Linked DNA regions of Homo sapiens: regions 1, 3, 4, 5, 6 and 7 are each linked to region 2. The links are contacts of gene promoters, found by promoter capture Hi-C in blood cells and fetal thymus (Javierre and others, 2016). All regions are on one chromosome and are shown on one strand. Each heading gives the region's core, a stretch centred on a gene start or on the middle of the fragment in contact. The rest is flanking DNA. Distances are from core to core; before and after follow the strand shown. Region 1 overlaps PTK2 (protein tyrosine kinase 2). Region 2 holds the start of DENND3 (DENN domain containing 3). Region 3 overlaps PTK2 (protein tyrosine kinase 2). Region 4 overlaps PTK2 (protein tyrosine kinase 2). Region 5 overlaps PTP4A3 (protein tyrosine phosphatase 4A3). Region 6 overlaps PTK2 (protein tyrosine kinase 2). Region 7 overlaps PTK2 (protein tyrosine kinase 2).

Region 1 (3,403 bases), core at 628-3,127, 300 kb before region 2:
CTGTTATTCATTAAGTAGGATTTACCAAATGTTACTACGTGCCAGGTACAATGTCAAACAAAGGGTGTAGAGTGGAGACAGCAACAGATATTGTCTTTGCCCTCAACAATCTTAAAATATAGCGGAGGAAGGCAGATAAAATACAAACAAGTAACAAACTACATAATTAAAAATTGAGGCCAGGCACAGTGGCTCACGCCTGTAATCCCAGCACTTTGGGAGGCCAAGGTGGGTGGATCACTTGAGCTCAGGCGTTCGAGACCAGCCCAACCAACACAGTGAAACCCCATCTCTACTAAAAATAAAAAAATTAGCCAGGTGTGGTGGCAGGCACCTGTAGTCCCAGCTATTTGGGAGACTGAGGCAGAAGAATTGCTTGAACCGGGAGGAGGAGGTTGCAGCGAGTCGAGATCACGCCACTGCACTCCAGCATGGGCGATGGAGCAAGACTCTGTCTCAACAAAAAAAAAAAAAAAGAGAAAGTAGAATTAAAAATTAAGATACTAAACAGGGTCCCAAGATTGAAGGGAGTATTTTGCCATTTCCACTTTGCGTGGTGAGAAAAGAGTAGGAGAGGGAACATTGAAGCAGAGGTTCAGAAGGACCAGTCATGGAGGAGACAGGGCCAGTCCTCTACCGAACCTCTTTGGGCACCTGTCTCACTCTGGCTACACTCACACCATGGCACCTGTGACCTGTACCTGTGGTTCCGTTTTGAATATGGGGATCCTTTAAAAATCTAGAATGTATTGGACTCCTAAATGACAACAGTCACTCTTTTCCTAATTGTTTATACACATACAGATTTAAGGAGACTTTGCAATAATTCTGAGGCTTCATAAACCAGTGCTTCACAACTGAAAACCCCTGACCAATACTACTAATGTGACATAACCATCAACAGAACATTGGGTAGAGTACTCTTCTATCCAACAGCAATGTAAATTCACTAAAACTGTAGCTTACACTTGTTTGAATGTCTCCACTATCCTCCTCACTGCAGCACCCAGCAGGTTTACACACAGCAGCATCCCTTCCACTTAAGGGTCTTCCCATGCCTTCTCGGCTCCCACACCAAAAACATTCCAGGTCAAACTGAATCTCCCATTCTCCCAACTGCAAGAGTATGGGCCACCCACACCTAATAACTCTCTCGAAGGACACAATTGTGTCATTCTCTCTCATTCCCCTTCCACTGTGCCAAACTTCATTTAAAACTCTTTGTTCTCTTTCAAATCTGACTCAACCCACTCATGCCAATGGTCTGTGGGCTACTTGTAGACTGGGACAGTGTCTCGATCTGTAGTCCTGGCCTCAACCACACTAAATGGAGTATGCTCTGTTCCCTAATAATTCACTGTAGTATTTCACTAATAGATCAGGAAACTTGAATGAACACTGAAAAAGTCGAGCAGCATCACTAGAAAGAGAGCCTGAAATAAAGAGTATATTTTTCCTGTACTATTCTTAAATGCACGTCTTATTGCATTTCTAGAATGCATTGTGTTTTAAAGCCAACACCTTTATATCTATTTTTCCCATTAGATTATCAAGAAGCTATGTGAGAGAGGAAGGGATACTGTTACTTTCTGGACTCAGGGAAACAGTGACTAATCCTTACAGTCCTATTCTGGATGGGTTTGACAGAGAGCAGGACCCAGATATCTGAATACAGAGCTTTTGTCACAGATTGCATCTGATAAATTATACCAACACTCCGGCCCAATGATAATCAACATGACGTCGACAGTTCTCTCTCTTTTGGTCTTTCTAAGATTTAATCCTCTTATTAATCTCGTGTTAGAAATGGATTTTATCCCCATTTTACGGATGTGTAAACTGAAATACCAAAAGATGAAATAACTTATCCAAAGTTAGCTACATTTTCTCATAATGAGTATCTTCTCCTGCTTGGGCTTCAGCTGATGGGATGTAGAATAAGATCTTTGAAAAATAAAAAGTAAGAGCAGTAACATCCACTGTTGCTATGTGACAGGTACTGTGGTAAGTAATATATTTACTAATCTGTTAAATATTCACATCAACCCTACAAAATACTATTTTCTTCATTGTAGAAATAAGAAACCAGGCCCAAGACCCTGAGGCTAGAAAATGGCAGAGCTCATCTGAGCCAGACTCTGCCTTAACCCTAAAGTTTGTATCCCCTGCTGCGCTTGAAAATCTTGATGTGTGCTCTGGATTAGCTGGGGGAATCACACATTCAGAGTCCTCCCACCTCACTCCAAGGTGCTCTCCACGCTGGATATGGGAAGGATAAGAACTGAGGCTCTGCCAAAGCTACTAATGCGGGGAAGCATCCAAAGGGTTGAAACAAAAGACAGACCTTCAAAATGCACTAACATGCACGCACACACATACACACACACACACACACACACACACAATATTAATGATTCCACCACCACGATTATTTTACATATTGCTCCTTTTCTTCTGCATGTCAAAATATTTTAGCCTGTGAAGACCTAGATGACAGGAATAACTGTGCACATAACTTTTTTAGTTTTATGCTTAGCAGAGTATCAAACACAATTAAGAAGTAAAACCATGTTTTATGGGAGAAAGCTATACTAAAAACCTATTTGCCATTAATGTGACTAGAATAAATGTCAGCTTTTTAAATTATATATTTTACATGTAAGGAAGGAAACTACATTTTACTTTCCCAAAAGCAATTTACCACTGGGGAAAAGGTCTTGGCATAATTTTGTTATTTTATTATGATAAAGGAGACTCTAATTACCTTGACAGAATCCAGTAAACTCTTAGGAAAAAATCGCTTTAAACCAACATCTTTTCTGAAATATAAAAAGAAGCGTATTAACAAATAACACCACCAAATCAATTAATATGACAAACTTGCAAGAACATAAAAGCACTGTAAATTATTTATCCTTCCATATATTATTTAGGAAGGAAACAAGTATAATAATGCTTTAATTTACCAGTATATTCACAGGAAGGATGGGACAAATCATTTTCTAGATATGTACTGGAAACATGAATACAAGTTGGTTTAAATAGAAATCCTTTTGGTTTTTTCTTTTTTTACCTTTATTGTTGAAAACTCTTCTAAAATATTCCCTCTTTGTAAATTATAGTGTATTAAAAACTGTCCTTTTTCAGATATTTCTTGAAGGTTATAAACATCACTTCCAACTGGGTAATACTGTATTTGTAGAGAAAATAGCTAGCCTGATTAGTAAATGATTCAGGATATACCCGAGAAGTTACAGAAATAAATCCCTTAGGTTTATCCTAAAAGTTGACTATTTTTAAAAATAGACTTTTTTGATTAAGTGACTCATTCACTTGTCTCAGTTTCACATTAGGAAAAAACAAACAGATAAATTTATGCCCTAGGTAAAAAAGGTGAATTTAT
Region 2 (2,844 bases), core at 1-2,500:
CCTCAGCTCACCGATGAGAGCCACCGATGGTAGGCAGCCTCCAGGCCTGGGGGAGAACCAGCAGATCCTCACCATCTTTAGGTTAATAAGTGAAATAAAACCTGTGAGTCAGGCTGCAGTCACGGCCTCACCCGGCTCAGGGAAGGAGGGAGAAATTCCTCAGGGCTCCCTTTTCTGATGTTGCCTTGCTTTGTACTTACTGTTCCTTTTCCTGTTCAGCTGATGACAGATGTTTGACATTAAGCATTTTAGAGTTTTGTTTTTTAGAAAATAGAATCATAGATTATCAGAAGTGGAAGTCCCTTTGGAATAATTTCCCCTGGGTTACACAGATGGCTATGGCAGGGTCAAGGGAGGGGACGGTCAGCGGGGACTGAGCGCAGGCCCCCTCCAGGCTCTGCAGCAATGACCAGGCAGCAAGCCGGCCTCCCGGGCTTGTGGGCTGTCCTCTTTCTCTGGGGTCAGCCTGAGGCTGGAAGAGGCCCGTGGCCCACCGGGCATCAGGCCAAGCCTGGAGCTGACCAGGGAAGGGCCCTGCCAGGCCTTGGGCCTCTGACCCTCAGTCCTGAAGCCTCCCTCTAGCGGCGCCCACCCTGCTCCTTTTCCTGCTGAATTTTACTCAAGTCCGTACTTGAGTATGGCCGGCCCTAGGTTAACCCCGCAGAGTTATTAACCAGGAGTGGCTCTTTCCACCCCCCCTTCCCGCCGGCCCTTCCTGCTGTCCACACCCGGCCAACTCCACTGTCCTGGCAAGGGAGGGCTTCCTGGAGGCGGCAGCGGGCGGCGCGTCCGGCCTTTGTCCCCCCACGCTCTCCAGGGTAGGTCCAGGGACTGCCAGATCAGGGGACCCTTTGCGTCCTGGAGCCTTGGGGGCTGGATGACGTCGCCGGGCACCTGAGGACCCCGCCCATTCCTCCCTCGGTTCCCCAGGGAGCGGGCGGCCGGCGGGGCTGGGCGGGGCCGAAGGAAGGGGCCGCTTGCTCCGACGCCGCGCACGCGCCAGGGCCCGCAGGCGGGTTAGGAAATGACGACCGCGCGCGGGTCTCCAGCAGCACCCGCCCTAGGACCGGCCCCGCCCCCAAGTCCCGGTCCCTAGGGCCGGGCACGCCACTCCAGGCCCCGCCCAGAACCTCCCCGCCCAGTCAAGCCCCGCCCCCAAACTCTGTCTCCCCGCGGTATCCTCTGGGGCTCTCCAGGCCCCGCCTCGGCTCGGGCCCCGCCCCTCCAGGCCCCGCCTCCAGCCCCGCCCCGCAGACGGCGCTCGCAGCGCCCCCGGCCCCCAGGCGGCGCGGCTGGTCCCCAGGGGTCTGCGGGCGACTGCGCGGCTGAGGCGCCCGAGTGCGGTACTGGCGGCGGGCGGCGGGCAGCCATGGCGGAGGCCGCGTCGCCGCACTTGTCGCTGCCCTCGGGGCTGCTGGAGCTCTGCGCGCTGCTGGGCGCCCCCCGGGACAGTCTCCGAAGTCTCGAGCAGGTGAGGGGCGGGGAAACTGAGGCGGACGTGGGCCACGAGTCGGCAGCCGGGACAGCAGTCGGAGAGCGGGCGCCCGGGTGCCCTGTGGGTTGGCGCGGACTTTCCGAGGGCTGAGTCCCGGTCCCCCGGCGGTGACCCCGCGCGCCTGTGGCCGGGGATCGCGCCCGAGCTCAGGCAGGTGCCCTGGAGCAGCGCCCTGCTCCCCTCCCCTCTTCTCTCCTCTCCCCGCCCGGGGCCCTTGGTGTGAGACATGTCTTTTGAGAGCTGCGAACTTGGTCCGCCGGCCGGGAATCTGGGGGTGCCGCCCCTCGGAGAGTCTCTGGGGCCTCTCTCTTCAGTCGCTCCCATCTTGGGCAGGTGCTTCTGAAGGTGGGGTGCACCAGACAACGGGCGGAAGCCGCCGGAGCCTCACGGTCTAGCGGGCCCAGCCCTCGCTGCTGAAATGATTTCATTCTTTATGCTGGGATGTGTTGTCCCCTGAGTAGTGGGTTTTGCACCAGGCACAGAATAACGAGAGAGCAATCTTAGAGTTAGCCGCCGGCCTCGCGTATTCTGCATGAACCCCTTTGCGATGAAGCCTATAGCTATTTTTCTCCCTTGCGGTACCACCCCCACCCCCAACCCTTCCTCCATCTCTGCACCCTCGCAGCCAAAGTGACAACTTCATCTCCCTTCTGCTGGGAAAGCGGCAGTTTTGGAAATTCTCGTTTTCCTTTTTCTTCCCCAGCTTTTCTTAATTCTGTAACGCTGGCTTTCCCTGGAATCCATCTGTGTCTCTGGTTTCCTCCTGGTCCGCCTGTCTGTGACACCGTGACTGGGTCATGTTACCTAGAGATCCCGGCGTCACTGGCCAGCCGTCTGCACAGGTCCGTTCATCTCTTTGCAGACAACAGCATAGAAAGGCAGAGAGGCTTCTGAGTATTTAAATGACGCTGGGCTATCCAGGGAAAATGAAGACTGCAGGGCAGAGGGTGTCACCAGGAAAGGCAGATGTTCCTGCAAGTAACCAGATGAATGTCTGTGAGTGTCCGGGGAGTTTCCCCTGCTGGGCGTCAGTACCAAGCCAGTTTCGACTTCAGTGAAAAAGCATTCTCCTATGGAAATAGTTTCCTCGTTTCCCTCAACTTTTCCTTCCCTTCAACGCCCTGTCATGTCAGTAGATCCCGTTTGACCTCTGTCTCCTCGCAACGTCATCGATTGATTTGTCTCCCTACCTCGAATTTGCCAGATGGCATCTCCTCCTTTTTCTTCGAATAGGAAGTGACCTAGTTGCCGCTGTGGTCTCCTCAGCCGTTGAACGTCTTTCCTCTGGGGCAGTTACAACATGGGTGTTAGTTGCTTGGTGTGACACATGTCTTTTGAGGGCAGGGCGA
Region 3 (3,139 bases), core at 166-2,665, 350 kb before region 2:
GCATTTATTTTATAAAGACAAAAATACATTTTTGTTTCTAATACTCTCATATAGTCTTTTCCCCTTTATAGCGTGGGGGCTGCTTGGGAGAAGATGGGAATACTCTCTTCTGGAAACAAAATTTATAAGACTGAGCTGGATTTCTGTGGGCTGGGAAGAGTTTATAAAAACAAAAATCCACTTTAAATTTTTGTTGTACTCATTATTGCTCAGCTTTTCATTTGGCCTTTTTAAAAATTTGAAAGTGCCTCAGGCTACCCCTTGCCAGGGAGGTCTGTGAGTTTCTGTCTGCACTGTCTGCACTGCCTGCAGCTGAGACGAGTTCAGCTCAAGGGTGAAGGAGTGGTTCCGGGTCCTTTTTCAGGATACTTCTTTACAACATACGATGCTGATATTTCAAAACCTATATGACCTCCAAGTATTCTTTTCAACTGCTTTAGAACCCAGAGAAGAAACGGTATGACTACGAAGAACACCCCGATCTCAACAGTGGCAAAGGGAGTTCGAATGATGTAATGGTGGGAGAGGGAGGGCTATCGGAAAGAAGGCAGCACAGCTGGGCTATTTTGATTGTTCACTTCCTTATTCATGCACAACACGATCAGCCAGTCTATCCATATGAAGTCAGTGACAACTGTACGCTTCTCAGTGGTTTGGAGTCTCTCCTAATACCAGACTGACTACCAGAATAATTTCCAGTGAGCCAGGTACTAGGAACAGATCAATAACATTCAATACCTACTACTTTGTGCACATAAAAATTATTAGTAGCATTAATTTGATTAAATTATGTCACAAAGCATATAATTTACAAAAATGAATTTATCTTTTAAAATTTGGTTGTTTTTTTTTTTGGGGGGGGGGACAGGGTCCTCTCTTTGTCACCCAGAATGGAGTACAGTGGGGTGATCTCAGCTCACTGCAACCTCCAAATCCCAGGGTCAAGAGATCCTCCTACCTCAGCCTTCTGAGTAGCTGGGACTATGGGCACACGCCTCCACGCCTGGCTACAGTTTTTGTAGAGACAGGGTTTCACCATGTTGCCCAGGCTGGTCTCAAACTCTTGGGCTCAAGTAATCTGCCTGCCTTGGCCTTCCAAAGTGCTAGGACTACAGGCGTGAGGCACTGTGCCTGGCCTAAATTTAGTTTTACTTTTTAATTTTTTCAGTGTCCCGTAGATTTGGTAGGGAAAAAAATGAACTACTTATATAATAGGTGACAATGCTCTCAAATTAGGGCAAGGTTTTTTTTTTTCTTTTCTTTCCCCTTTTAATTCCTAAAAGCTAGCATTTAAATCAAGCTTTCAGCAACAGATAGAGACTACCTTGGAAACCCACAGCATTATCAAAATTGAAACTAGAGTGTAAAACTAGACAGAAGAACCTTTTTCAAACTTGAATACAGGGCACACTTCTGAGAGTTGGAACTGAGTCAGCACTATCCTATTCCTAATAAATGAGGGGAAAAAACCTTAATGGAATCACACGCAAACTCTTTCAAAGTATTATTTCCTTCCACACATTTATATTATCAAGCTTTAGAAATGAGTCAACATAGGCTAGGTGCAGTGGCTCACACCTGTAATCCCAGCACTTTCGGAGGCAGAGGCAGGCAGGTCGCTTGAGCCCAGGAGTTTGAGACCAGCCTGGGCAACATAGGGAGACCCCGTCTCTACAAAAAAAATACAAAAATTTGCTGGGCATGGTGGCGCACACCTGTAGTCCCAGCTACTTGGGAAGCTAAGGCAGGAGGATCACTTGAGCCCAGGAGGTTGAGCTGCAGTGAGCTGAGATCAAGCCACTGCAATCCAGCCTGGGTGACAGAGGGAGACCATGTCTCCAGAAAAAAGAAAGAAATGAGTCAATATGGTCTAATGTAAAGAGAACAAACCTTCTAGTCCAAGATCAAGATTTCCATCAGGCTATTACTTACTAGCTATGTGAACTTGGCCAAACCACTTCAGCTCCGAGTGTCTTTATTTCTTTATGTGTAAAGTGAAAATATTACGAAGACTCTCATGAGGTTTAAACAAAATGATGCCTGTGGATGGGCCAGGCATGATCTCTAAGACACATGCATATGTAAATAACTACCTGTATTTATAAGTGGCATAGTCATGAATAGGTAACAAATCTAGTGTATCAGAGACCACACAGAAAGAGATAAAATGCAGTAATTATTATAGACTATACCACCTTATATTTTATAGAACTTTACAGTTTACAAACCACCTTTGCATATACAAGTGAGCTGTTTTAGAATTTGTAATGAAGCAGCTTAATACAAAATACAAATAACATTTATTTCATTAAATGTTTTAATAGTTCAGAATAATTTCCAGTCACTAACCTGAAAAACCTAAAAGTAATCTTGAATAAAGGAAATTATGTTGCATGATAAACAACTGAACCAAAATAATGTTAGAAAATTAAAAATTTATTTAAATTGCAACAAATACTGAAAAAGTATCACAAAGGGCCAGGCGTGGTGGCTCACGACTAATTTTAATTCCAGCACTTTGGAAGGCCGAGGTGGGTGGATCACCTGAGGTCAAGACTTCGAGATCAGCCTGGCCAACGTTGTGAAACCCCATCTCTACTAAAAATACAAAAACTAGCTAGGCGTGGTGGTGCACAACTGTAGTCCCACCTACTCGGGAGGCAGAGGCAGAGGCAGGAGGCTTGAACCTGGGAGGCGGAGGTTGCAGTGAGCCAAGATCACACCACTGCATTCCAGCCTGGGTGACAAAGTGGGGGGAAAAAAACTATCACAAAGTAGTATAATTGCCCTTTAGCATGAAGGGCTTAGAGACAATCAAACCAAGCATTTGAAAAAGATCACTGCATTGGTGTACATGACAGAGATACAAATGAGAAAACTTGTATTATCTCTAGTGCCACATGTGTAGTCCAAACATGTAACAAGAGCCATGTGCATAATGCAATGGTATTACTATCATGTGTTATCTTGTACTTCTGGTCATAATTAAGGTTTTACTGCTTGATCAAGGGCTTCGTTATTTTAGAAAAGAAAAAGAAAAAAAAACCCAAACACAATAATCCACCAAACAAAACCCCCAAGTTTATACCTTCAAAATATTTAAAATACAGCTTTACTCATTGATTTGGAAATACCTGAT
Region 4 (3,661 bases), core at 84-2,583, 320 kb before region 2:
CTAGTTTCGTTGGGGTAGAACCATTTCAGGGGGTGGGTTGTTTTTATAACCAAGGCTGCTAGATGTCACATGAAGCATGGGTAATTCCTGCACAATAAAAAATTGTCCTGCATCCTCGACGGCTTTCAAATGTCCTGGTGTGTATTTATGTCACTGAAAAATCTGACTCTAGAAACAAAGTCTGTTTAAAACCACAAAGTATGCTCTGCATTGAACTTTCCAGGAATGCAACTTACGCGTAATGCAAGGGAATCCTATACTATGCTGTTTTTGAAGTTTTATTAAGAGTTCCTCACCATTTTGGAGAATGACACCACCAAGGGCAAGACTTGCTATAGTTATTTTGGTCAGTGACAAAATGCACCTGTATCAGTTTGCATCTGTAGCTACTGCATGCACGTACGTAACAGAGGATGTCGGAGGCGCCTTCCAACAGACCGAGAGCTGAACATCATTATGTTGGTGGTGACACATGAAATGAGGAATACTATCTCAATTAGTCCTTGTTATTGCTATCTCATAATTAAAAAAAAAATTCGAAGGCACAGTAAGACATCTAGGTTATGGAAATTATATTTTTTAAAATTGTTTTTCTGCCTCACTCTGGCATTATTCCCCAAGGTCAGTCACATAACTTTTCCCTATCACTTTCCTACACCACTTGTATGGAGTGGCTTCTGATTGTTCTCCCTCCAATTAAAAGTCCTTACTAAGTAGGTGCGTCTGACTAGAGTGCCTTCCAATGTATTGTGCTAAACTTTAAGATATTGATAGAGATTTTAAAAAATTATTTGAGTAGGGGAATAACATGCTCTGTAATTTTAATTTCAGGATAGCAAAAGATAATTTAAAACATCTGTTATAAAGAGAACAGGGTTAAGAGGGGCTGGCACTGCCCACCTACTCTAAATCAAACACTCAGATACTCTCTCACGCCACCCTACTATAGCCCTTTAGCACAATCCCATTATTTATATTGCTTATTTTCTTCTTTATATTCTATTTTATAACTAGAAGGAAAGCCCCATGAGGATGGGAGTATCATGTCCACCTTGTCCACCACCAGATTACAAGGAAGCAGGGCCATGCCTGGCATGTAAGTGAATGAAGTATGAGAAGTTATTAGGTGCTAGACTGTGTTCCAAGTATCAGATATACAGCAGCAAACAAGGATAACATGAATCCAGACATTAAACAAACATTACACAAGTAAACCATTACAACTGTGATAAGGACTATAACAAAGCAATACACGGTGCTGTATAAAAATATCTAATTTATTGGAAAGGAGAGGAGGGAGGAAATAAAGCCTCAGAAAAAGTTTCACTGCGAAAAAGAGAACAAGACTTGAGCAACACGAGCTTAAGACTAGGTATATTACATTCAGATACAGTACTGCACCAGCAGAATCTAGCCTACCACCTAGCACAAGGCAGCTGCACACAATATATAAGCAAACTGACTAAGGTAACACTCAAGATAGGCATGTAAGTGGTCATTACAAGGGCAAAAAGAGAGGGAAAGAGCACTTGAGAAGGAGAATCTGAGATGTGCTGTTCAACTGGTGGCAGGAAGCCACACACAGCTATGGAGCACCCAGTGGTATGTGGCTCCTCCAGGCTGAGATATGCTGGTAGGGTACAATGCATGCCAGATTTCAAAAACTTGGAATGATAAAAATAAGATAAAGTCTCAAGAATTCTTACACTGACTATATCTTGAAATGATGATACATTGGATATACTGGATCAAATAAAATATATTAAAATTAATTGCACCTATCTTTTTATCTTTTTAAATGTGGTTACTATAAAATTTTAAATCACCTATGAGGCTTACATCGTATTGCTGTTGGACAGCACTGGAGAAGTCAAGTAAAGTAGATGAGGACTCAGAATTACCCAGTGGGCTTATCTACAGGAGGATCACTGTCATCATTGGCAAGGCATTGAGGGGTGGACGGTGGTAGTGTAATGGTAGTAGGCAGGAAAGGCCTGGTTGAAGCAGGTTGAAGAGGGAGTGGGAAGAATTAAAGACAATGCAGTTAGATAATCTGTCAAGAAGTTTTGCAATAAATGACACGAAAACATGAGGTACCAGGGAGAGAGAGGGACACAGGGCTAAAAGAGGGGATTTTAGGATGGGAGAAACTATACATTTTTCTATGCTGACAGGAACAATCCAGTATGTTAGAAATGTCTGCTGCTACAGGAAAGAGTGGGCAGAACTGAAGAATTACCATGAACAGGTAAGATGGGATAGAAGCCATTACATAGCAGAGGGTTGGTCTCATTCAGGAACATGAAGTTCACCCATGGGAGGCAGAACAAATGAGGAGGAGGAGTGTGGCAGGCAGAAATGTGAGAAGTGCAGTGCAAGGAATCTTCTGGGGGCTCTATCCTGATTGCTCCAATCTTGCTTTCTTCTACTTTATATAACTAATACCTCTTATTTCATAGGCACAGAGGTCCTTATAAACTCAAAAGGAAAACATATATTTTCAAGGAACATTTATAAAAATCATACGCTTGGCCATAAAGAAGATCTTAACAACTGTGAAACAGTTAACATTTAAAAATCATATTACCTGCTCATAAGCCAATATGAAATTTTTGGCTCATAATATGCTCATAGAAATAAAAATGAGATAAAACCCCAGGGCTACTTGAAACTTAAGTAATATTCTTCTAAATAATGCTATAATGAAAAAGAGAAATAAAAATAAAATTTTTGTTCTTGTTTTTTTTTTTTTTTTTTTTGAGATGGAGTCTCACTCTGTCGTCCAGCATGGAGTGCAGTGGTGTGATCTCAGCTCACTGCAATCTCCACCTCCCGGGTTCAAGCGATTCTCCTGCCTCGGTGTCCTGAAGTAGCTGGGACTATAGGCGCCACCACGCCTGGCTAATTTTTGTATTTTTAGTAGAGACGGGGTTTTGCCATGTTGGCCAGGCTGGTCTCAAACTTCTGACCTCAGGTGATCCACCTGCCTCAGCCTTCCAAAGTGCTGGGATTACAGGCATGAGCCACGGTGCCTGGCCAAAGATAAAACTTCAAATGAGTATACAGAAATACAATGGAAAGAAGAATACCACATACCTAGAAAGGTAAGACATATTAAAAGTTGTGCAAGAAGAAAATGGCCTCCAAAGTAAACAAGAATACATTTTAAAGATGCACTTAAAAGGGAAGAGCACAATAAAAAAGACAAAAATAATGAAGATACTACAAAAACAGAATGAAGAAAAATACTGAAATCAATGAAAATGAATAGTACTGCTGCAATACATCACTAAACTTGTCCTTCAAAAAACAATTAGAATAGACAGACCTTTACAAGTCTGAAAAAGAGCCAAATCAAAAGAGCTTAGGCATGAAACAGGAATATAGAGACAAAGTTACTGGAAAGATTTTAACAGATCTATGAGAGGCAACTCTATGGCAGCAAGATGAAAATGTAGAGAAATGGATAATATGCTAAATTACCAAAGCCGACACAAGTGGAAAATGTGGATAGATCGATTACTATTAGGCCAGGCACAGTGGTTCACGCCTGTAATCTCAGCACTTTGGGAGGCTGGGGTGGGCAGATTACTTGAACCCAGGAGTTTGAGACCAGCTTGGGCAACATGGCAAAACCCCCTCTCTACAAAAAAATACAAAA
Region 5 (3,402 bases), core at 535-3,034, 270 kb after region 2:
GGTGCGCGGGAGACCTCCTACCCTGAGTTCATCCTGCGCAGGGTCCCGCCCAGGATCTGGCTCTGCCCCCATTCACGGCTCATTTTCCTCAGCTGCACAGTTTGGGGGGCTGGAACCCCACAGCCTTCCGTGCCTCCAGGGCGGGTCGTAGATGTCAGTGGAGGTCAGGGGAAAGCAGAGCGTCAGGTCTCAGGCCGGGTGGAGTCCGCCTCAGACCATACCAGTGTTGGGACTCGGGCGGCGCCTCAGCCCTCCAAGCACACCCCGGTAGAATCAGGTCAGCAGCCTTGATCCACGTGCCTCAGGGATTAAACGGGTGACTCCTGACACGCCCCTGGGCAGCTGGTGGCCCAGGGGTGGGGTGGTGGCATGCTTAGCTCCAAGTGGGCAGAGCAGTTTCACCCTGCCGGTTCCCGGAGGGAAGCCCTTTATGAGGGAGGCTTCCCTGGCCCTCTGTGATAGCGGCTCCAAGGGCAGCGTGAGGTCCAGGCTAGCTGGTCACAGTGTGTGCCCGGGCACCCTCAGCCAAGACAGAAAGGCACGTGCTGCACCCCCTCTCTCTGCCTGCGGGCTCTGGGGTGTGCCCCGCACACGATGGTGGGTGTTGGGCATCCACCTAGTCTGTGGACCCTGGGGGCCCTGCTCCCAGGTTGGAGCAGTGTCCTCGGCTGCAGACCAGAGGAGGTCACTGAACACAGGGTGCCTGTGGCCTTGCACAGACAGAAGCCGCCTGGCAGCCCTGTGCAGAGCCGTGCTTCACTGAGTTCCTGCAATCCTCCCAAGAAGTTCGTTAACCCCATTTCTCAGATGAGGAGACTGAGGCCCACAAAGGTGGAGTTGGTGCAGCCCCTAGCCTGCGGGGCTAAGCAGAGCCTTGTTGTCCCCATCTGCAAAGGGGGCGTTGGAGCTGCTGTAAATGGGCCCCGAACCTGTCACCTGAGTGGAATTAGGCATTGGGGATCTCCCCATCACCACGCCGGCCCCCCTCACTGTGGTTACGAAGGAGGAGAAGCTGCCCTGTGTAGGAATTCCTGGGCTGTTTCCAAATAGCCCCGCTAGGGAGCTGGTCACCCCTCAACACCCCCAACGTGTTCTCCAAGCACTTACTCTGTGCCAGGCCCAATGCTGGACCTGGAGATGGGGCATGGCTGGCTGGCTGAGCGGGGCAGGTTGCGGACAGGCCCCCGCAGGCAGTCGGCGTGATGGGAGAAAATGCAGGCGGGGATGAGATGCAGCCTCCAGGTGGTTTCCTCAGCTGCCTGCTCCTCTCTGCCTTTGCCCTCCTCCCGGAAGCTTGCGCTGACCACTGGAGTAAGGCTGGGGGCCTCAGCTGGTCCCCTCTCTGTCCCAAGTAACAGCCCAGAACATGGTGAGGGTGGCTGGCTGATGCAGTCAGGCACTGGACATGGGAGGCAGGAGGAAGGCCGGGAGGTGGGCAGCTTTCTCAGACAAGTGGGCAGTTTGGATGGCGAGGAGGTCTTGGAGGCACCATGGGTGGCTGGGCTCAAAGATGACATGAGGGCATGCTTAACAGATGCTTAACCAAATCCTGAATTGGCATTGGCCAATTTCTGTGGTGTAACTACTCCCAAGCTACACAGACGTGACTTTACTGGCTGAGGACTTGGGCAGAGGTGCACACAGTCAGACTGAGAGGGGGGCATAAGCTGGTGTGAGCCCTCCCTCTCACCGCCAGGGTGGGCAGAGTGTCCGCTGGTGCCCAATGCCTATGCACGTGACCTCCTTAGGGACTTACATCCAGATGGCGGTGATACAGCTTGGGGAGGCCTCTCCCTGGTTGGCAGGTCCTGGCGAAAGGGTGAGTTAAGTGGAAAGTGTACCAGGCTGGTGTCCAGGTGGCATTTGGCCAGAGGGGCTGAGCTGGGAGCTCCTGGGCCTGGGGCTGGCAGATAGTGGTGATTTTTCGCCCCCCAAGACCTTGGGCTTGCCTTGTTCCATGAAGGTCCCAAATCTGACCAAAGGCTGTAACCAGATGGTCACTGTCCCAGACCACCCCAGGGCGCTTTCTCACCTCGAGAGCACCGTTTCTCCCCACCTCCACCCTGGCCGCCCTTGCTGTCACCTACTCCCTCTGGTCCCTGGCACCCCTCCCTGCCTGCAGTGGTGTTTCCTAGCAAGTGCAGCAGCCCGAGGCTGGGCTAGAGGCAGGAGGGCCTGGCCTCCCAGTGTCTTGCTGGATACTTGGTTTCTTGCCCCTCCGTTTCCACACCTGTAAAATGGGAGCAATGACAGGTCTTCCTGGCAGGACAGTGGTGAAGCTTGGTCACACGGGTGAACATGTGTGAGGTAAAAAAGACTTCCCATCCCTCCTTCTGACCTGGACCGGCTCGCAGGACCCATAGGCAGGGACCTGGGCAAGGTCCGAGGGCCGATGAGCCCCGTCCTCTCTGCACAGTTCAGAGTTGGGTGGGAGTGGCTGTGGGCTGCAGGAGGAGGTACTGCACTTCGCACAGTTACGTGGTCGGGTTGGCATCGCCGCCGCCTGACTTCGGCGCCCCGCGAGTTGGGTGTGTGCGGTTGGGGGCGGCCCAGAGTGTGCCCCACGCCTGCCAGTCGGGTAGGCCAGCCTCCCTGGAGAGAGGGGGGCCTCCCCAAGGTGGGACGGGGACAGGGACGGGTGCTTCCTTCCACCCAGGAGCCTGAGCAGAGGGTGGAGGGTCCTGGCAGCTACCTACGGCAGCTGAGAGCTGCGCTCTTTAGCCGAGCGGGATCAGGGCTACGTGGACACAGCCCGTGCCAGTGTGGGTGGGGCACGAGCTGTGGGTTCCGATGGCCCAGTAGGCGTTCACCTGGCAGAGAGTGTGCGCGTGTCTCCCCTCCTTGGGGCGCCTCAGGTCAGGACCCTGAGAACCTCACTTATCCTTTGAGCTGCGCCAAGGCTGTTGTACAAAAGACAGTTCAGAAAATAAGGACAGGCTGTTCCTCCCAGCCAAGGGTGTGGCCCTAAGGACCCCTAGGTGGGGCATCGCTTCCCGCCAGGCACGTGCCACTCAGTCTTGGGCTGCTTTAGTGGCAGCCTCCTGGTTTGGAAGCGGAACTGAGGGTCAGGGATGACCACATGGCTCAGGGCTCAGCTGGGGTCCTGAGAGTGGGCCCTCAGGTTTACCTTCCTCCTGGAGGGGAACTGGGGGCCATTGCCCAGTGCACCCCCACTTCCCCTTAGGTGCGTGGGCCACCCCTCCCTCCTGCAGCCCCCGTTCATCTACCCAGGATAGGTGCATGGGCCACCCCTCCCTCCTGCAGCCCCCGTTCATCTACCTGGGGAAGGTGCGTGGGCCACCCCTCCCTCCTGCAGCCCCCGTTCATCTACCCGGGGTAGGTGCGTGGGCCACCCCTCCCTCCTGCAGCCCCCGTTCATCTACCCAGTGGGGATGTCCCCTG
Region 6 (3,411 bases), core at 282-2,781, 280 kb before region 2:
GCAATTACTTTTGCACCAAACCAATAGTTCATAATTTACTCAAATTTTATTCAGTATTTCACTGATAATCCTTATGAAGAAAAGGAAAATACCTGGAAAATATTCAAAAATAATTAAAAAATTGATAAATAAAGGCCGCAATGTATAGTTATCATCTTACCGTATTTCTAGACAACCCAACTTCAAAGCAATTTCCTGGTCCACTTGATCAGCTATCTCTAACATATAATCGCTCTTCACCTACAACAAAAGGAATGGGAAAAACAACACTGTTTTAAAAGAAAAATATTAGATATATGCATTCAATAAATGTTTCCTGAGTACCTTTCATATAGTTTACATTATGTCGGTAATTACGCTTGATGTTAAAGATATAAATAAATGTTTCCTGAGTACCTTTCATATAGTTTACATTGTGTCGGTAATTATGCTTGATGTTAAAGATATAAATAAATGTTTCTTCAGTACCTTTCATATAGTTTACATTGTGTCGGTAATTATGCCTGATGTTAAAGATATAAACGTGAGTTATACCAAAAAATAATTAAAGAAATAAAATGGTCTCCTATTAAGAAAAGCTCATATATGACCACTTAAATGGGACATTAAGAAACAACGAATAGGGTCTGAATCATAATAACCTTCAGATGCTCCACACCTTTCCCATGCTGTCAAAAGTAAAAACAAGAAGGGAAATTTCCATTTCTACAAAAATTTGCAGATGTATTTTCTGACCTCAAACTACAGTTCCAGCAGCATATTTTGGACTCCAGTGAAAAGGCAAAGGATTTACGTACTTCAAAATCCATTTAACTGTGCAGCTCAGATGTTTTCATCTAACCATCAATTTTAAGTGATTAATCTGCAAAGTAATACAAGCTTAAAGTCTAAAGTAAAGAGAAGAATCTAATGGAATTCTTGAAATGCCTTCTAAACAATGAATCAACTCAATTTTAAAAGCCGATAAGAGTGATATCAATACGTGCAAGTAACTGTCACTGTGAACACATTTTCAAAGACGAAATGTGTACAATTTCCTTGTAGATTAGCCTGAAAAGATTAAAATCTGCAATTGATTTTGATGAGAGTACCCATTTTGAACTTCACATGAAATGTTATCCACCCCTCCTCCAAGACGCATCCCATTCTCTTCAGCAGTACACCTGTGTTACAAGAAAACCATGCTCAATTATTATATTATGAATTTTATCAACACAAAAATTTGTGGAAATTTGTCTTCTTTCTTGTTCTGTACTTTCATAATACCCTGCATTTTGCCTCGTTCCTGAAAGTCTAAACTATTTACTCTGACCCTTTATATAAAAAGTGTCTTGACTTCTACCCTAAAAAAATTTTCAAACATCCTGTTCTTCAATGACTGCCTCCTAGCCTGCTAGCCCATTTGTTCAAAGAGTCCCACCCCCAGTTAACTCATCTCTCACTCCACACCAATCTTTGTCTACTTCATACTGGATGGTTCCTCATTATGACCGTCCCTTGCAAAGACAACCAGCTCCCCTGTCTCCCATTATCCCTCTGTCTGAATTGCTTGGTAAACCCAAGCCACGTTGAACCTACCCACTCATCCTCTTCATGTTTAGATGAGCAGCTGGAGAAATCATAGTATAAACTCCACTTTCAACTCATGAAGACAAATCTCAAATGGCCAGTTAAAACTATCTGGAAATTGAACAATGCATGCCTAGGAAGCGCTACAATTCACTGATTTCATACTTCCTCCAGTAAGCCTGCCATATCTCTTTGTTACAGAGAAGATAAAACACATCAGATGAGCATACTCTCTTTAACCTACCAGGAATTTATAACCTAATATGCACTAAAAAAGTATGAACATTTACTCATTATTTTCTCTTAAAGTAGGAGAAACATTCCCTCAACCAGCAGTGGACAACTATGTGCTATTACTGATCTAAGGACTATTCGTCTCAAAACCTTTCTTTATTTTCTGCATTAGCATCTAAGGCTGGGTGCTCAATAAATATTTATTGAATGAATGCATAAACGAATGAACAAACAGTCATCAAACTGGAGGGTGGGTACATAAATGTTATTTTCCATATATATTTTCCCTCCTTTACAAGGAACAAGAGTTTCTACTCCTTCCACAAAGCAGGCACTCAAGACTGACCAACCGGAACTGAATTAATTCATTCAGTTAAGTAAAAAGCTTTAGGTCTAGAACTATTCGTTTAACTTCTACAAATAGTAGAAGCTCTTGTTTCTACAAAACAAAAAATAAGTCTCAATTTAAAACCTGTTTTGCATCATAAGTAGGTTTATTATCGAGCACAAAAATAAAGGCGCAAGAATTAAACCAAGATAGGTATTTAGATAGGCAGAAAAATACCACCGTTACTCTGATGGAAACATTCAGTGGCTTTTAGTTGTCTGATGCAGATTTCAGAGGAACTACTGCAGACCACCAATTACATGATGAGGAAAATGCACCATTACCAAATTCAATTAATCTTGAAGATTAATTGCCACAATTTTTAAACACTATTCACAGGTAGAAAAAATAATCAAATGCTATATTTCATCATCAAAACCAAATTCGCATTGTAAAAATGAAAAAGGGGGAAATTATAATAATCTTCATTTAAAAAATCTCATTTATGAGAATGAGTTCAAAGTTCTGAGAGTTGTTTTTCCTATAGCTTTAATCTCGATTATCAGAGCTGCATGATCACACACTGAAATCTATTTGTGGCCCGATGTGATCAAAGTATTCTGCAAAGAGTATAGATCTGAGATAGAATAAGGCATCACCACAGACCCGTGTCCTCCCCTCAAGCCCCAAAGCAGCTTCCCCTCTGCTGCCAGAGAGAAAGCAAACTCTATTCAGTGTCTCAATGCTCCCTGTCATCTAGGCTCTAGAGAGTGTTCTCTCAAGCCACTGGGCACGGCCACATCCTGAGGCTGGGCTTCAAGACTCAGAATTATGTACACACTTTGTTCATATCCCTTATAAAACACTTCTTGACCACCTGTCTTCCACTAACTCCCAGCAGAATTGCTATCATTTGTGAAACCAAACTGATCAAGCATTTAGGTTTCTATAAAGTATATATACCTAGCACCATGTCAAGCAGATTTACATGTAATATCTCATTTAATCATCAGAACATCACTGTGAGGTGGGTACTATTATCATCCCCATTTTATAGCCTCAGAAAAAGCCTAAAAGATTGATCAAAATGATAGCAGTAGATAATAATCCTACTTAAGGAGTATCCACCAGGGACCAGTTACTACGCTAAGCATTTTACGTATATTTCTGATCTTTACAATAATTCTTCAAGGTAGAGTTTATTAGTCCTATTATATATAAAGATCAGAAAACTTAACTTCGTGTTGAACACGTATTAAAGTCAGGATTCAAAATCCAGA
Region 7 (3,278 bases), core at 412-2,911, 470 kb before region 2:
AAATTAGAAAAAACTCACAAGGATGGCATTCCCTTGACATTTGCTTCAGATGAAGTAACTGTCACAGATCCAAAGATGAAGCTGCTTTTGCACATAAGAGCATGTATTTACCTGGAAAAAATTCACTCAAATCCCTCCCTTTGGAGTCTGAGTCCCTAGTGCTGGAGATCTCAGTTCTATTTGCTCCCTGCTCTGTGGCTCACAGAGATTCTAGCAAGACTAGGGTGGGCCTGGGAAATGCTAACAATTTCCTTGACAAGTGAATTATGCTTTGAGTCCGAGTTAGCGGAATAGTGAGACCCTGCGCAGGGGAAGGTTCTTTCATTGAAGACCATTGCTACTTCCATCCTGAGCTCTGCATTTAATAGGTGACGATGGAATGAAAAGGTTAACTTACGCCACGCTACCCTTCTGTGGTAACATCCTTGACTTGTTTAGAAGATTAAATAAAAAAAAAGAAACTAATTAGTGAGAGGCTTCCTGATAATTATTGGGAACTCTCTTGTATGTTATCTTATCTGACAAGTCACCTGAAAAGCCATCTGAAGAAACAGAACCAAAAGAAAGGATATTACAACAAGAACTTTACTGGTAACACCTTTTTAATAGGTCAAAGTAACTGTACAGTTCATTATATTCTTCCTGAGAATAATTTATATCCCCCAACAAACTAAAGGGAGGGTATATTTTTTCAAAATTAACAGAATGGATGGTGTAACTGGACATCAAAAGAAAACCAAATTCCTGTTTTGCTTCATTCTCTCCTGGGAAGACAGATACAAGGAAGGGTTAGTTAACTCCAGTGGCTGTAAAATAGTCAACATGGCTTTAATCTTTCTTTATAAATTATATAAAAATGGAAAAAGGGGATGGTTCTGGAACTTCTCCTCAATGCAGTTTGGAGGTGCTCTGGTACAAAGCATTTCTGCTTCCAAGAGAAATAACATTGCTACAAAAAACTGGCACATTATTCTGTGAAAAAAGACATGAGTTTTTAGTTGTGTTCTACAGCTAGTTCCCGACCCAATGCTTCACATATCCACACGAAAGTAAAAGGCAGGTAAGACAAAAAGGGCTGTAGTTTTTTCTGAAATAACTCAAGTCTTCAAAATATAGCTTTTATATTCTTTGTAAAGTGGGATTAGCATATTGCAACTGAAGGGTGTTCTAACAAACAAAAATTCCAGTCTGGATAATAATTCTATGGTAGACAAAAGAATTCTCAGCCTCTTGGGTTTCCTGGAATTCTTTGCTTCATGCTCTCCTCTTCCACTATGCAGCTAAGGTAGTTTAGGAATTAAGATGTCACCCCTTGGCCATCCCCCTTTAGAACGTATCTTAATGTGAACATAAATTGTTCTTCATGATGCTTAAAAGCTTACATATAATTTTCATTCTTAGAAAAACGCCACATTTTGGATCCTGGATTTTTCTGAATATCATGATTGAAAAAAACAAAACAAAAAATGAACCCAAATCAAAGTGTGGTTAAACTTATATGAGAAAGATTTTTCAACCAGATGGTCATTCAAAAAAGTTGGAGCTGTAAGTGCTGGCGACTGAGGACACAGGGTTAATTCCTCGCTGCTGGTGGAAGGCTAGAGAACATCTTCAAAAGAGGGTAGCAAGACGTGCTCCTAGGGGAGGCTCAGTGTGGTCTCGTCTGCCCAAGCATTTTCAGTCTTGCTTGGTCAATGACATCGAGTAAGTTTTTGGCATCCACAGCCAGGGCGTGAGCAGCAGTCAGCATTTGCTTTTTGTACTCTTGCTGGAGGCTGGTCATGACATACTGCTGGGCCAGTTTCATCTTGTTGATGAGCTCACCCAGGTCAGAGTTCAATAGCTTCTGTGCCATCTCAATCTGAAAGACAAGAGATAGGTCAGGAGAACTGTTTTCAGTGATTTTTTTTTTTCTTTTTTAGAGAGATGTTCTTACTGTGTTGTCCAAGCTTGCCTCAAACTCCTGGGCTCAAGGAATCTTCCTGCCTCAGCCTTCCCACTAGCTGGGAACACAGGCACATGCCACCAAGCCCTGCACCAATGAACTTTTCAGGGAATTTTTATGAGCCTTTCTTTCAGTGCCTCCATGAGAAGAAAACTTTATTTCCTGTAAATAAATCTTCCTTAGGAGCAATAGGATGTAAAAATCAATCTTTAAATTTTTTTTTTCTTATTTTAACTTCCCACACTACATTCATGCATTTAAACATTTTTTTTACTTACTTTAGAAATTCAGCTATTATAGTGTGCCTGTTTGTGCATGCCGATTCACACATGCAGATCCAGCATCTTGTTCCTTCCATTCAAAGCCTTCCCTGACACCATGACTAACTTCGTCTCCATTTGCGCTGTTTAGACTTTATTAATCTCAGTGACTGGCAGGGCTTTTGTTTCATAATAGAACCACAGAATCTGACAGAACTTCAGAGATCATCTATTCCAAACACTTTCACATTAGAGTGGACAACTGAGATACAGTAAGATGTGCTGAAGGCCACACAGCTCTTTAGTCTCCAAGCCAGGACAAAAGCCTCAGTTCTGACTTCTGGTCTTATGCTTTCTACTATGCCAACTCTATTTCAAGACCTTCCTTGGCTATACAAAAAATGGTTTAAGGATGGTGGCAGGGCGCAGTGGCTCACTCCTGTACAATTTCAGCACTTTGGGCGGCGGAGGCAGGCTGACGGCTTGAGCTCAAAAGTTTGAGGCCAGCCTGGGCAACATGGTGAAACCCCATCTCTACAAAAAAATACAAAAAGTTAGCTGAGTATGGTGGTGTGCACCTGTATTCCAAGCTACTCAGGAGGCTGACGTGGGAGGACGGCTTGAGCCTGGAAGACAGAGGTTGTAGTGAGCCAAGATCGTGCCATTGCACTCCAGCCTGGGTGACAGAGCCAGACCATTATGTACGCCCCTCCCCCCGCACACATTAAGTCAGGGCAGCAATGGTGGAAGCAGCTAATGAACACAAAATGCTGTCCTACAGGGTTCGAATGCTTTGCATGGGAGAGTCTCATGATCCTTCTTATCTGTTTCTTCAACCAGTGGTGACTTATCCATTTGCTCTTTTATCAATTATGGAGCACCTATTATGTACGAGACACTTGGTGCTTGGATACAAGGAGGAAGACCTGTTTTTACCCGCAGTCTACAATGGGAAAAGCATACACAGGACCCTATAATACACTGGAATAAATCACGTAGTAGAAAAGTACATAGATAAGACAGCAATGCATTCTGTCTCAGAGAGGGTCAGAAAGACTTCACAGAGAGAATTT

What was found. Contacts are between HindIII fragments. The CHiCAGO score rates a contact against its expected background, and 5 or more counts as called.
Region 1: a contact is called between a fragment that was not itself captured here and the fragment with the promoter of DENND3 in region 2, in 13 of 17 cell types (total B cells, naive B cells, total CD4 T cells and 10 more). The highest score is 13.7, in total B cells.
Region 3: a fragment that was not itself captured here is called in contact with the fragment with the promoter of DENND3 in region 2 in 1 of 17 cell types (endothelial precursors); the score reaches 5.4 in endothelial precursors.
Region 4: a fragment that was not itself captured here is called in contact with the fragment with the promoter of DENND3 in region 2 in 4 of 17 cell types (naive CD4 T cells, total B cells, naive B cells and 1 more); the score reaches 6.4 in naive CD4 T cells.
Region 5: a fragment that was not itself captured here is called in contact with the fragment with the promoter of DENND3 in region 2 in 1 of 17 cell types (monocytes); the score reaches 5.5 in monocytes.
Region 6: a fragment that was not itself captured here is called in contact with the fragment with the promoter of DENND3 in region 2 in 5 of 17 cell types (total B cells, naive CD4 T cells, naive B cells and 2 more); the score reaches 8.7 in total B cells.
Region 7: a fragment that was not itself captured here is called in contact with the fragment with the promoter of DENND3 in region 2 in 1 of 17 cell types (endothelial precursors); the score reaches 5.3 in endothelial precursors.

Annotation. Positions count from the first base shown.
Region 1 is chr8:140,827,708-140,831,110 of GRCh38, forward strand. PTK2 (protein tyrosine kinase 2) reads right to left here. Exons shown (of 36, transcript NM_001352702.2): 8 at 2,765-2,819. Among named protein-coding and RNA genes, the nearest start is that of MIR151A, 97 kb to the left of the region's middle. The HindIII fragment of the contact is 8,465 bases long and covers 1-3,403 here.
Region 2 is chr8:141,127,339-141,130,182 of GRCh38, forward strand. DENND3 (DENN domain containing 3) reads left to right here and starts at 1,251. Exons shown (of 23, transcript NM_001352890.3): 1 at 1,251-1,471. The coding sequence starts at 1,370. It overlaps DENND3-AS1 (DENND3 antisense RNA 1), which reads right to left and starts at 2,803. Exons shown (of 2, transcript NR_183310.1): 1 at 2,686-2,803. RefSeq lists enhancers at 1-678, 1,512-2,342 and a silencer at 797-1,656. The HindIII fragment of the contact is 7,380 bases long and covers 1-2,844 here.
Region 3 is chr8:140,781,401-140,784,539 of GRCh38, forward strand. The region is part of intron 14 of PTK2 (protein tyrosine kinase 2); the gene reads right to left. Among named protein-coding and RNA genes, the nearest start is that of MIR151A, 50 kb to the left of the region's middle. The HindIII fragment of the contact is 235 bases long and covers 1,299-1,533 here.
Region 4 is chr8:140,805,995-140,809,655 of GRCh38, forward strand. All of the region lies in intron 10 of PTK2 (protein tyrosine kinase 2), which reads right to left. Among named protein-coding and RNA genes, the nearest start is that of MIR151A, 75 kb to the left of the region's middle. The HindIII fragment of the contact is 9,947 bases long and covers 1-3,661 here.
Region 5 is chr8:141,392,387-141,395,788 of GRCh38, forward strand. All of the region lies in intron 1 of PTP4A3 (protein tyrosine phosphatase 4A3), which reads left to right. It overlaps ASTILCS (antisense transcript of PTP4A3, liver carcinoma survival associated), which reads right to left and starts at 235. Exons shown (of 2, transcript NR_187488.1): 1 at 22-235. The HindIII fragment of the contact is 986 bases long and covers 1,292-2,277 here.
Region 6 is chr8:140,846,439-140,849,849 of GRCh38, forward strand. PTK2 (protein tyrosine kinase 2) reads right to left here. Exons shown (of 36, transcript NM_001352702.2): 6 at 161-240. Among named protein-coding and RNA genes, the nearest start is that of MIR151A, 120 kb to the left of the region's middle. The HindIII fragment of the contact is 1,309 bases long and covers 878-2,186 here.
Region 7 is chr8:140,657,818-140,661,095 of GRCh38, forward strand. PTK2 (protein tyrosine kinase 2) reads right to left here. Exons shown (of 36, transcript NM_001352702.2): 36 at 83-1,861. The coding sequence ends at 1,649. Among named protein-coding and RNA genes, the nearest start is that of AGO2, 24 kb to the left of the region's middle. The HindIII fragment of the contact is 572 bases long and covers 1,376-1,947 here.